Linked DNA regions of Homo sapiens: all the other regions are linked to region 3. Evidence: promoter capture Hi-C in 16 types of primary human blood cells and fetal thymus (Javierre and others, 2016). All regions are on one chromosome and are shown on one strand. Each heading gives the region's core, a stretch centred on a gene start or on the middle of the fragment in contact. The rest is flanking DNA. Distances are from core to core; before and after follow the strand shown.

Region 1 (3,016 bases), core at 205-2,704, 440 kb before region 3:
AGCTACAATTGCAGACTGATACACGTGTGGCATTATAGTGAGTCAAATACCATGAGCAGTATTGCAATAGGTGATATATTTTCTGAAGTGGTGATCATTTTTTGAAAAGTCCAAACAAAACACAGTACAATCTTCCCTTTGTTTAGCTGGTGATTGCATTCCTAAATGGTTCATATTTGTATATAAAATGGAATTAGACCTTAGGCTTGGAAATATAAACAGGTTTTCCATGTACAAGAACCTTTATCTGTTGGGACATTAGAAGATCCCATATGATGACAGAAAATTCTTTGTTGTATGGGCTGTCTCACTATGGCAGCATGTCTCTCCTCCATGGTCTCAGTTCATTAAATGCTAGTAGAGCCCGCTCAAGAATGTCCAAATGCCATAGTTTAGATCCATTTCTTTGAGTGCCATCATAGAGGTGAGGGAATTCCAAGTGCTAATGGAACTGAAAGCAGGGCCAGGCATGGATGCAGTGGCTCACACCTGTAATCCCAGCATTTCGGGAAGCTGAAGCAGGAGAATTATTTGATGCCAGGAGTTCGAGACCAGCCTGGGCAAAAAAGCAAGGCCCCATCTCTACAAAAAGTAAAAAATTAAAATAATTAGCTGGGACCTGTAGTCCTAGCTACTCTGGAAACTGAGGTGGGAGCATAGTTTAAGCCCAGAAATTCAAGGCTGCTGTGAACTGTGAACACATCACTGCACTCCAGCCTGGGCAACAGAGTGAGACCCTGTCTCCCACCCCCAACCAAAAAAAAAAGAATTGAGACACAGCAAATATTACTGTGGGAAGAGAAACTGTAAAGGGGAAGGAGTTTGGATTCAGGTGGATAGAGGCTTGAACTTCACCCAACCTTAGACAATTTTTTTTTTAGACAGAGTTTTGCTCTTGTTGCCCAGGCTGGAGTGCAATGGCACCATCTCGGCTCACCACAACCTCCGCCTTCCGAGTTCAAGCGATTCTCCTGCCTCAGCCTCCCAAGTAGCTGGGACTTTACAGGCATGCACCACCACACCCAGCTGATTTTATATTTTTAGTAGAGATGGGGTTTCTCCATGTTGGTTAGGCTGGTCTCAAACTCCCGACCTCAGGCGATCTGCCCGCCTCGACCTCCTAAACTGTTGGGATTACAGGTGTGAGCCACCACGCCCGGCCTCTGCCTTAGACAATTTATATAACCTGCCACGGCTTCAGTTTCTCAGTTTTTTCTTCTTTCAGTTTCCCCACTTTTAAAATAGATCTATAATACTTCTGTTATGAGTTTGTATAAAGACTAAACAAGATTGCAATGTATATAAAATGTTTAACATTACCTTTCAGGGGCCACATTCCAAGTATTTTTTTCCTTGCCATTAAGTGAGAGAATCGCAGTTATCTCAAAGTAAGGGAATATCATGAGGGTAAGCGTCCCACAGCTCAGTTCTTGGAGAAAATAGAAAAGAAGAGAGACAAGAGGAGCATATAAAAGTGACTAATTCAGGAGGAGGTGACATCTGAGTTATCAAGTAGGATAAAATTACCTTGGTTCATAATCAGTAATAGGAGGTCTCAGTACAGCATAGTGACTCTGCTTGGGTTTTATACTCGGAAAACCTGGCTTCCTGTCTTAGCTCTGCTGCTTGCCAATGAGCTGGGGCAAGTCACTTCGCTTCTCAGGTTCTTTATAGGTAAAATGAGTTCAGTAATACCTGCCTTTCCATTTTATTGTGGAATTGAACTGAGATGTAGGATGGAAGGCACCTGGCTCGTAGCCAGACTCTTACACGCAGTAGCTCTTCCTCATCAGTTCAGAGCTGTGTAGCAGCCAAAGGAAAACTTCCCTTTTGCCCCCTAAAGGTTTGCTGAAAATCAGCTGACAAAAGGCAGATTAATAGGAGGAAAGCATATAAATTTATTAAAGTGCATGGAGGAAAATCCCAGATATTATCCCCTCTTTCTCCGTGAATTGGGGTCTAGATGTTTTTATGCCTTTCTTCTTAGAAGAAAGGGAGATGGGGAAGTATGAGTGATGTAAGGGGGTTAGTAAATGATTTTTAGGGGAATTTAATGGGCTCCAAGAACATATAATGGCCTGAGACAAAGCCTGTTGGGCTCACAAAGCAGACAATGTTTTGGGACAAAAGGCTGTCCAGGTTTGTTGACAGACTTGTCCTTTTTTTTTTTTTTTTTTTTTTTTTTTTTTTGAGACTGGGTCTCACTCTGTCGCCCAGGCTGGAGAGTGCAGTGGCGTGATCTCGGCTCACTGCAACCTCCACCTCACGGGTTCAAGCAATTCTCTGCCACAGCCTCCTGAGTAGCCCTGAGTAGCCAGGATTACAAGCGCCCACCACCACGCCCGGCTAACTTTTTTGCATTTTTATTTTAGTAGAGACAGGGTTTCACCATCTTGGCCAGGCTGGTCTTGAACTCCTGACCTCATGATCCACCTGCCTCGGCCTCCCAAAGTGCTGGAATTACAGGCGTGAGCCACCGCGCCTGGCCAACAGATTTGTCTTTCTTCCTGTGATATGAGTTTAGTTAATTAAAACTCAGGGAAGGGATGAGAGGGATTTGTTTTTTCCCTTGGCAGATCTGGACTGTAGGCAGATACGGGAACTTTAGATAACAATTTCATCCTGTGCTTTGGGAGAGATGGAGGATTAAGAGACGGGGTGCAGGGAGGTCAGAGAGAATTTTGAGGCTGCTTCCTCCATTCAGCATGTCAAAGCACCATATTTTGGAGTAGCCTTTTCTGAGCCCAACAGCTGCTAATCCAGCATCTGAAGAAACAGGACTGTTGAACATGAACTTCTGTTATTTATCAGTATTTCAGCCAGGCTAGGCTGGGCTACACTGCAGTTACAAGTAAATTCAAAATTTCCATGACTTAAACTTGAAGATATAGTTCTTATTCATTATACTCTCTATCATTGTCTGCTAGAAGCTTTATTCCACACCATTGTCATCCTTACTCCAGACCTGGGGCTGACAGAGCGACCACTATAGGAATATTGCTGGTTGCCATGACAA
Region 2 (2,898 bases), core at 130-2,629, 260 kb before region 3:
CAAATGGTCCAGTTGGCCTCTCAATTATAGGTCCTGATCGTTAACAAAATGAACATTTATTCAGACATACCATGAATAATGTTAAGTACCCTACATAATCTATTTAATCTTCAAAACACACCTAAGGAGAGGCTCTGTTTATTTTTATCCTATTTTTACATATGAGAAAATTGACCCTTAGACAGATTCAGTGATTTGCCCAGGGAACACAGTTAATAAGTAGGAAGCTAGTGGCTGAATTTGGCAGCCTGACCTTAAAGCCTCAACTCTGACCCACCTGTCGCTAGGTTCCCTTATTGATGTCTCACCTGCGGTTATACCATGCATCCTAATTGACCTCAACAGTCCTGGCTTCCACTATTCTGTCCCTTTTGTCCATGAAGATGCTCTAACTTGTCAAATTCTGGGTCTCAATTTCTGGTAATGTTTTAACCATAGGTGACAATCATGTGTTCATTTAACAGACACTTACATAGTGCTTACTATTCTAGCTGTTCTATTGAAGTTAATTTATTAAATTAATATTAGGGTTAATCTAATTTAATCCTTATAACAACTGCATAAAGTACAGACAACCCTCCATATCTGTGGGTTCTGCATCTGTAAATTCAACTAACCTCAGATCAAAAATATTTGGGGGAAAAAAATTGCACAAAGGTCCATAGAGCACAACTTGAATTTACCATGCACTGAGTACTACATTGAATCTACATGAATAAAATGATGTGCAAGCATTGGATCAAGTATTGTAAGTAATCTAGAGATGCTTTAAAGAATATGAGAGGATATGAGTAGGTTATATGCAAATACTATGCCATTTTATATAAGGGACTTGCACATTCACAGATTTTGGTATGAGGGGTGTCCTGGGACCAATCCCCAGGATGCCAAGGGTTGCCTATATGTATTAACACATTATTTCCATTGTACAGATGGGGAAATTGAAGAACAGAGAGGTTAAGTAACTTGGTCAAGTTGACGGGACTAATAAATAGTAAGTGGCTGAGTTGGGATTCAAACACAGGCTACTAAGTAGTAACCATGATGCCATGTTGCCTGTACGTATTTGTGGTATTAGTAAGTGGAACATTTACTGTATGCTCAGCACTCTATTATGGGGGATATAGACATGGACTTTTGCTGCCCACAAATTGCAATACAGTATTTTCTTTATCAGCAGTTTTCTTTCCATGGTTTCAGTTACCCATGATCAGCCATAGTCTGAAAATATTAAATTAAACATTTCAGAAATAATCCATAAGTTTTAAATTACATACCATTTTGAGCAGCATGAAGAAATTTCACATCGTCCGACTCTGTCCTGTGGGGATATGAATCACTCCTTTGTCCAGTGTATCCACACTGTATGTGCTACCTACCTGTGAGTTATTGACATTGTCTGCTCCTGACATCCAGCCATGGACACATCACAAGAAGAAGGGTGAGTATGGTATAATAGGATATTTTGAGAGAGAGAGACCTCATTTGCATAACCTTTCTTACAGTATATTGTTATAATTGTTCTATTTTGTTATTAGTTATAATTGTCAATCTCTTATTGTGCCTAATTTATAGATTAACCTTTATTATAGGTATGTATATATAGGAAAAAAACAGTATTTATAGGGCTTGATACTATCCTTGGTTTCGAGCATCCACTGGAGGTCTTGGAAAGTATCCCCTGAGGATAAGGCGGGAAGACTGTAAACAGTTGCTCAAAGGAGGGTAAAGTTCCAATGGACTGGAATAGACTGAAGGAGTGGTAGGCACCGCTGGTTGTTTATCTCATCTTCTACCATTTCCTCTTCCTTTCTAATAGCATGCCGGTTTTGTTTAGGAGAGCCATGTGCCCAGTAAGGGTGGCCACCCAATCAGGTTCTGGCCAGCAAGATGACAGAGGAAGTCCAGTGAGTGGGGCTTCCAGGAAAGCGATTATTTTCTTGGTACAAAGGCACAGACTCAGTTGGCATGCACCTTGGACCCTTTGCTCCTGCCCCTTCTCTTTGCCTGGGACCCAGACACAACACATAGAGTAGAGCAGCCATCTTACCACCATGAGGACTGAAGCCAGTCGCTGGGGTTGTCAGATAAGGATGTTAGAAGCAGCCTGGTCCTTGGTGATTTCCCTGAGCAGCTGTAAGAGTCCTGGGCTGTCTGCTTCTGGACTTCTTGGTGTGTGAGAAAACAAACCCCTATTTGGTTAAAATAATGTAGTTGAGCTTCTGTTACAAACAATTGAACAAAGTGTTACGTGTAAGCCTTCGTGGTGGAGAGAGTCTCTCTTTAGGGTTTAAAGGTGAGGAATATTCAGCTAGGCTGGGAGAAAGGAGAAGCTATTCCAGGTGTACAGTATGTCCTACCCAGTGGCAGGGAAGCAGAACCAGCACATGCATTCAGGGCAATGTCGAGAGCCAGCCACCCTGGGCAGAGTACAGTTAACTTAATTTTGTAATGCCTAAGGGAGAACAAGAAGGGTAAAGGAGCTGATGTATGAAACAGCATAGAAAGAAACAGCATAGAAAGGCCGGAGACTTGGTGAGAAGGTGAGAAACAAGCCTTGGGCCACATCACAGATTTTATTTTCATGTATTTATTTACTTTTTTTTTTTTTTTTTTTTTTTTTTGAGACAGAGTCTCGCTCTGTTGCCAGGTTGGAGTGCAGTGGCGCGATCTCAGCTCACTGCAATCTCTGCCTCCCGGGTTCAAGCGATTCTCCTGCCTCAGCCTCCAGAGTAGCTGGGACTACAGATGTGAACCACCATGCCCAGCTAATTTTTGTATTTTTAGTAGAGACGAGGTTTCACCATATTGACCAGGATTGTCTTAATCTCTTGACCTCATGATCTGCCTGCCTCAGCCTCCCAAAGTGCTGGGATTACAGGCGTGAACTACCGCCCT
Region 3 (2,886 bases), core at 318-2,817:
TAAAAATATAAAAATTAGCTGGGCGTGGTGGCGGGCCCCTGTAGTCCCCGCTACTCGGGAGGCTGAGGCAGGAGAATCACTTGAACCCAGGAGGTGGAGGTTGCAGTGAGCCGAGATCGCACTACTGCACTCCAGCCTGGGCGACAGAGTGAGACTCCGTCTCAAAACAAAACAAAGAAACAAAACAAAGAGCATTTGGGGTTCTCAGGAGGTGTAGCCTGTACACATAGAGGGTACTGGAATTGTTTAAAAAATTACACTGCAGTTTGACTTCTTTTCCATCCTCACTCCTACACCTAGGTTTAGGGGACAGAACCATCTGATAAAGATAAATCTGTTTTAAGATTTCTGGGGTGTTCTGCAAAGACTACTATATCATTTGCAAATAGGTTGTCTTTTAATAAAAATCATGCTACGTAATGTCTTCTTAATATACGCTGAACAAATTGCCTGTTTTAATTTGGCTATATATCTACAATTTAAAATGTTCATACTGTTATCTTTTACCAGTGGAGTGTTTTTTTGTTTGTTTGTTTGAAGTCTTTAGGCGAAGTGAATTTATTCAAGGAAGTTCACATGTCGGTTTTGTTCTTTTAGAGGGGTGTCTTTTTGACCACAAAGAAAAAAAAAGTTTTCCACAAATGTCATCTAACTAAAGGCAATCTATGGACTTTAGGAAGTCAGTTGAGCACACAGATTAATGAGCCAATACTGAGCCTCCTCCCTTCTGACCTCTCAGCACCTGCTCAACTAAGCTCAGGGGAAACTCTTGAGTCTTCTTCTTAAATTGGTAACGCTTGCCCTTTCTTTCTCAAACAAATCAACGCCCAACACCACCACCAAATTATAGGCAACCAACGCGTATCCAACAGCATAAAATAGTTCCCAAGAGCATAAAATAGTTCCCAACAGCGCCAGCGCAGGGGGCAAAACAGAGCGACCAAATGGGGGCACCCTCAGGGGAGTTGCGCTCATCTGGAGCGAGACGCCAGCCTGGGAAAGCGGAACCCCTTTCCCGCCCCGCCCCGAGGACTCACGCTCAGGTGCAACGCCGAGACTCCCGGGGGAAAGAGAGGTGACCGTCTCGGCGCGACCGCCCACACCTCTTGCTCCAAATGACCCCAGCACACAGGAGAGGTCCTCTCAGCGTGGGACTCCGTCTCTCCCGAAGGCAGGGAGCACAACGAAGCGGCCACTCGTCTCTGCAGCCGCGCTACCGGCCCGCAGCCTGGCTCGCAGGTGAGGCGTGAACAGGTAACCGCACCTGTTCGGCCAGCCCCACCTGCTGCGTCCCCGTATCCGGTCCTCCTCCTCCACCACCTCGGTCGGCGCGGCTCGCCCTCCTGGAACCGGGGTGTCACGCTCCGACCTACCTGCGCGACTCCAGCCCCGGACGCCCGCGCTCCCCGCGGCGTGCTCCTGGGCCGCTCCGGGCGGGCAGGCTGCGGCCCCGCGCCCGCACTTTCCCGGCTGCCGGAGGCTGCGGGCTCAGCGGGAAGCCCCGGCGCTGTCCGGCTCGCCGCCTCCGACCGGCTCCATTGTGACGCGACGCGTTCCGCTGGCCAATGGGCGCTCGGCGGCGCGAACCGCTGACTAAGTTCGCGGGTGGAGGAGGAGGGGACGGGGCGGAGGCAGGGCGCGGAGGCGGCTACCACGGTGGTGGCGGTAGCAGTGGCGGAGGAGGAGGAGGAGGAGGAAGAGGAGGAAGAGGCTGCAGTCGCTTCGGTAGCTGCTCCTGCTGTGAATTTTTCAGCTGCCTGGGCCTGAGTGTTTGCCCAGCTCTGGGGCTGCGGGAGCCAGTGACTCACCTATCACTGCTGGAAACAAAGCGCAGCTGCCATCTCCCCGAGCGCGCCATGTGGCCATCGCTGCCCCCTCGCCCAGCCTGGGGTCCGCAGGAGGTAGCGCACAGCCATACGCCCCGCGGAGCAGCTGGAAAGAGCGGGGACTGCTTTCCAGAAGCGGGAGGGAAATGGGCTTCGGCGTGTCCCCCAGGCGCGCCACACCGGTGACTTCGGCACTACACCGCGTGTGTCGGGCCCCAGCCTTCTCACGTGTGCGTCCCTGAGTAACTTGGCATTTATATAACGCGTGTTGGGCCCTGAGGGAAAGGTCGGGTGCAGCACGCGGGAACCTCCTCTTCGAAAAGGAAGTCCCCTTACTTTTCTTTACCCTGCTTAGAAAGATTGCAGGGCCCAGCCTCTGTGAGGGAGGGTTTACAGTTGTACCAACTAAGCGGCTTAAGTTCGATTCTGGCCTTCCAATACCATTGGCTTCTCTCAAATGTCGTTATCCTCAGGATAGGGAGGGGACCACATGGCCGAGGGGCGGTCCCTATACTCATAACCTGCCTTTCACTGCGATTCAACTGCAGAGACACCTCAACTACTGCCCGCTTGCTTCTCTCCCAAGTGGCACTGCATTTGAAGGCCAACAATATTCCTTACGAAACAGAATTAATCCAAACCCACAAATTCTAGGGACATAAATATTTTTATCATCCTCATCCATTTCCCCACTCTCACCCTTACCCCAGTTTTAACTCAGTCTCTGCCCTGGCTATTATCTTGAGCACACTGATTCAATTAGGCAAGATTTATGTCTTTTAGTTGCTATGGTGGTCACATCTCCATTTAAAAAAAGAAAGAAAAAACAAGTTTGTACCGGCATCTCCCAAAGGAATAAAATGAAGACGAACAGACTCAGCATTTGGGGCATCTGAGCAGTTTGTGTAAATGGGAGTATAGCAAATGCCCTATCGAGTTAATATGAGACAAGAGTTGTGTCTCAGACTGTTCAGATGAGGACTACAATTTGAGTCACCCTGAAAGGGAAAAAGAAGGCTGTCTTTGTGTCACTGATCTGTTCTTTTCTTGTTCACTCAGT
Region 4 (2,700 bases), core at 15-2,514, 350 kb before region 3:
GCATAGAGTAAGTCCTCTATAAGTGTTTGTTAAATAAATAAAAATTTCATTTAAACATTTAATAAGCACCTTCTATGTGTTGGGTACAGTGTCAGATGACAACATATAGAAATAAAGAAGACCTTAAAAGAGGTGGAAGTTACACTGTTGTATATGAAAGGCTTTCTCTGACCATGTAACACCCCCTTCTCTCATTGCCCTATCTCTTTATCTTGCTTAATTTTGTTATTAGCACTTATTAAAGGATATCTAATAGATATCCATGAAACACATGCTTATCAGACTCATCTACTATATGGTCTTCATAAGGATAAGGATTTTGTTATATTCACAACTGTATAATCTAGCTTCTAAAACACTGCTTGGCATTCAGCAAATGATCAAAAACTATAAAATAAATGAATGAGTGAATGAAGAACATTTAATGGACACCTATTATGATATTTTGTAAAGACCAGATAGTTAAATGTTTCAGAGCTTCTAACTTTCAATCCCATGCATATTTTAAAATTTGAAATCTAGTAAACTTCTCCCATGTTAAAAAAAATCCAACAGCAATGCCTGTCAAAAAGGCATTTGTATTTTCAATCAATTCCAAAAGATTCTACCGGGCTACTTAACCTGTACAAAATAATATTGGTTTGTAGCTTTATACAGGTTTTTTTTATCCTCATATTATTCTTGAGAAGTAAGGATGGGATAGATATTCCCCCCACTAAATAATGAGACAACAGGTAAGAGAAGTTGCCTCGTCCAGATACAACCAGATCAGCAACACTGAATGATTCAAATTCCCATTATAGGAACATATTCCCACTGTATAGGAACTACTGCAATGACAATCATGGTAAAGTCTCAGTAGAACTAAGAATTAAATGAATTTATGAATAAACATTCTCACTCATCAATTCAGCCAGCCTCTTCTTCCACCAACTTCTTAACATTTTTGGATTACTGCTTAAGTCATTATTCTTACTTTTATCTATGAACAGCAATTATACTCCTTAAATGCCACCTTTTGGCTACGAGTCAATTCAACATCTACAATTCAGATTATTGCAATACTTCATCATTGCTAGATAATAATGACATCCTTTGTCAATACATACTGAGTGGAGAGGAAGGCAGAATCCATAGATAAATGGCAACATGTGGACCCTATCCTTACTAAGCATGGGTTTTTGTTCTTTTTTTAGGTGATAAAGTCACTGAAGGGTAATAGTAAACTTCACTACTCCTGACATAATGAATCCAAATATTATGCCCCACTTACCACACACACACACACACACACACACACACACACACACAAATAGTTTCTTACTTCTCAAGGAATAATAAAGGAAAACAGATTCACACTTCGAGGTCATAGAATCCAACTCCATCTCATTATAGATGAGAAAACTGAGTTCCAAAGAAGTTAGAGAACTAGTTCAAAGCTACACAGCTAGCTTCTGGCAGCACCACAGCTAAAACTCTAGTCCTCTGCCTCCGAATTTAGGGGTCTACAATTATGAGCTTGATAAGCCACATAAACTGGCAACTCTTCCTCCTAGTTTTTCCCTTTATGATGTTTTCAGCTTTGTGTAGGAGAAATTTATTCATTAAACAAAGTACCTACAAACCCTTTAATCGTTAAGTGCCTCACAAATATTTGAGTGAAGTGAACCAAATTTGGGTATGACTTACTGCCATAGGAAGCAGAATGCTTAACACTTAGACTATCCCATTTGTGATTTTTGGTTTCCATAGTGATAAATAACATTTACTGCTACATGTGGTCTGGCTTAGATCTATGAACAAGCATTTCCTGATGAATGGCAACTCCCACAAGATACAATTTCCCAAATACTTTAGGCAGCTGATGAGGAAAAAAAACACTGCCCATAGAAAAGATTAATGACCTACTAGGTCGTTCATTATCAAACGGCACTCTAAATTTGCTATGATATGGCTGATTCTTTGACTTTATAAATTTGTTTCAGGAATGTAAGGGAAAACATTTGGGCTTTGCCAACCAACTTAACAGACAGGATTATAAAATTTAGGTTTACGAGAAACATGCCATAAATTTGATTCAATAAAATATGATAGTTTTCAATCCTACATGACAAAGATATGTTTCATATTTTAACTCTTCAGTTGTTAGTTTTTGATGATAACACCCCTCTTCTAATGTGTCCATTGTTTATCTGGAACCTATCAATATAGTCAGTCCATCTGGACATAAACATGGAGCTGTATACAAAGAAGAGGCCACTGAAAGGAAGTCATGAGCTTCAACATCCACCTAGTCATTTGCTGCCTCCAGCTGGCTTTTGTGTTTGGTAGTTCTGTTTAAGAACTAAACTTATCAAAATGTTCTAGTATTAGGTCATTAAAAATACAAGGAGAACCTAAAAAGTGTATATATGCAATTATACATTTAGAAATATTTTTTCTCCCAGCATTCTCTTCCCAGAAGGCTGTAACACAGAAATTAATACAGAAGCCTTTGTTATTTTGCAACTTTGCATCGACAGCTTTGAGGGGTTGTTGAGTTACAGGGGAGGGGGTCAAATTTTTCAAAGAGGACAGGTTGAATTAGTATCTTGATGTTCCCTGGATCTCTATGATCTCTCCCCTGTACAATTACAGAAGCCTGTACACACTGTTTCTAAGAACACTTCACCAAAATTGCCTTTGGTGAGAACAAAACAA

Evidence for each region. The method cuts DNA at HindIII sites, captures the fragments that hold promoters and counts their contacts. A CHiCAGO score of 5 or more calls a contact.
Region 1: a contact is called between a fragment that was not itself captured here and the fragment with the promoter of LRRC8B in region 3, in 1 of 17 cell types (total CD4 T cells). The highest score is 5.9, in total CD4 T cells.
Region 2: a contact is called between a fragment that was not itself captured here and the fragment with the promoter of LRRC8B in region 3, in 3 of 17 cell types (non-activated CD4 T cells, activated CD4 T cells and total CD4 T cells). The highest score is 7.1, in non-activated CD4 T cells.
Region 4: a contact is called between a fragment that was not itself captured here and the fragment with the promoter of LRRC8B in region 3, in 1 of 17 cell types (non-activated CD4 T cells). The highest score is 5.0, in non-activated CD4 T cells.

What each region holds. Positions count from the first base shown.
Region 1 is chr1:89,965,602-89,968,617 of GRCh38, reverse strand. It overlaps LOC105378847 (a long non-coding RNA gene), which reads right to left. Exons shown (of 3, transcript XR_001738142.2): 1 at 1,321-3,016. Among named protein-coding and RNA genes, the nearest start is that of ZNF326, 28 kb to the left of the region's middle. The HindIII fragment of the contact is 2,957 bases long and covers 1-2,932 here.
Region 2 is chr1:89,785,994-89,788,891 of GRCh38, reverse strand. LOC107985744 (a long non-coding RNA gene) reads right to left here. Exons shown (of 3, transcript XR_001738140.2): 2 at 2,051-2,192; 3 at 594-1,321. It overlaps LOC101927975 (a long non-coding RNA gene), which reads right to left and starts at 522. Exons shown (of 2, transcript XR_001738141.2): 1 at 1-522. The HindIII fragment of the contact is 5,480 bases long and covers 1-2,898 here.
Region 3 is chr1:89,523,510-89,526,395 of GRCh38, reverse strand. LRRC8B (leucine rich repeat containing 8 VRAC subunit B) reads right to left here and starts at 1,567. Exons shown (of 6, transcript NM_001369817.2): 1 at 1,374-1,567. RefSeq lists enhancers at 1-40, 41-542 and a silencer at 1,244-1,703. The HindIII fragment of the contact is 21,216 bases long and covers 1-2,886 here.
Region 4 is chr1:89,873,055-89,875,754 of GRCh38, reverse strand. The region is part of intron 2 of LRRC8D (leucine rich repeat containing 8 VRAC subunit D); the gene reads right to left. Among named protein-coding and RNA genes, the nearest start is that of LRRC8D-DT, 53 kb to the right of the region's middle. The HindIII fragment of the contact is 3,292 bases long and covers 1-2,700 here.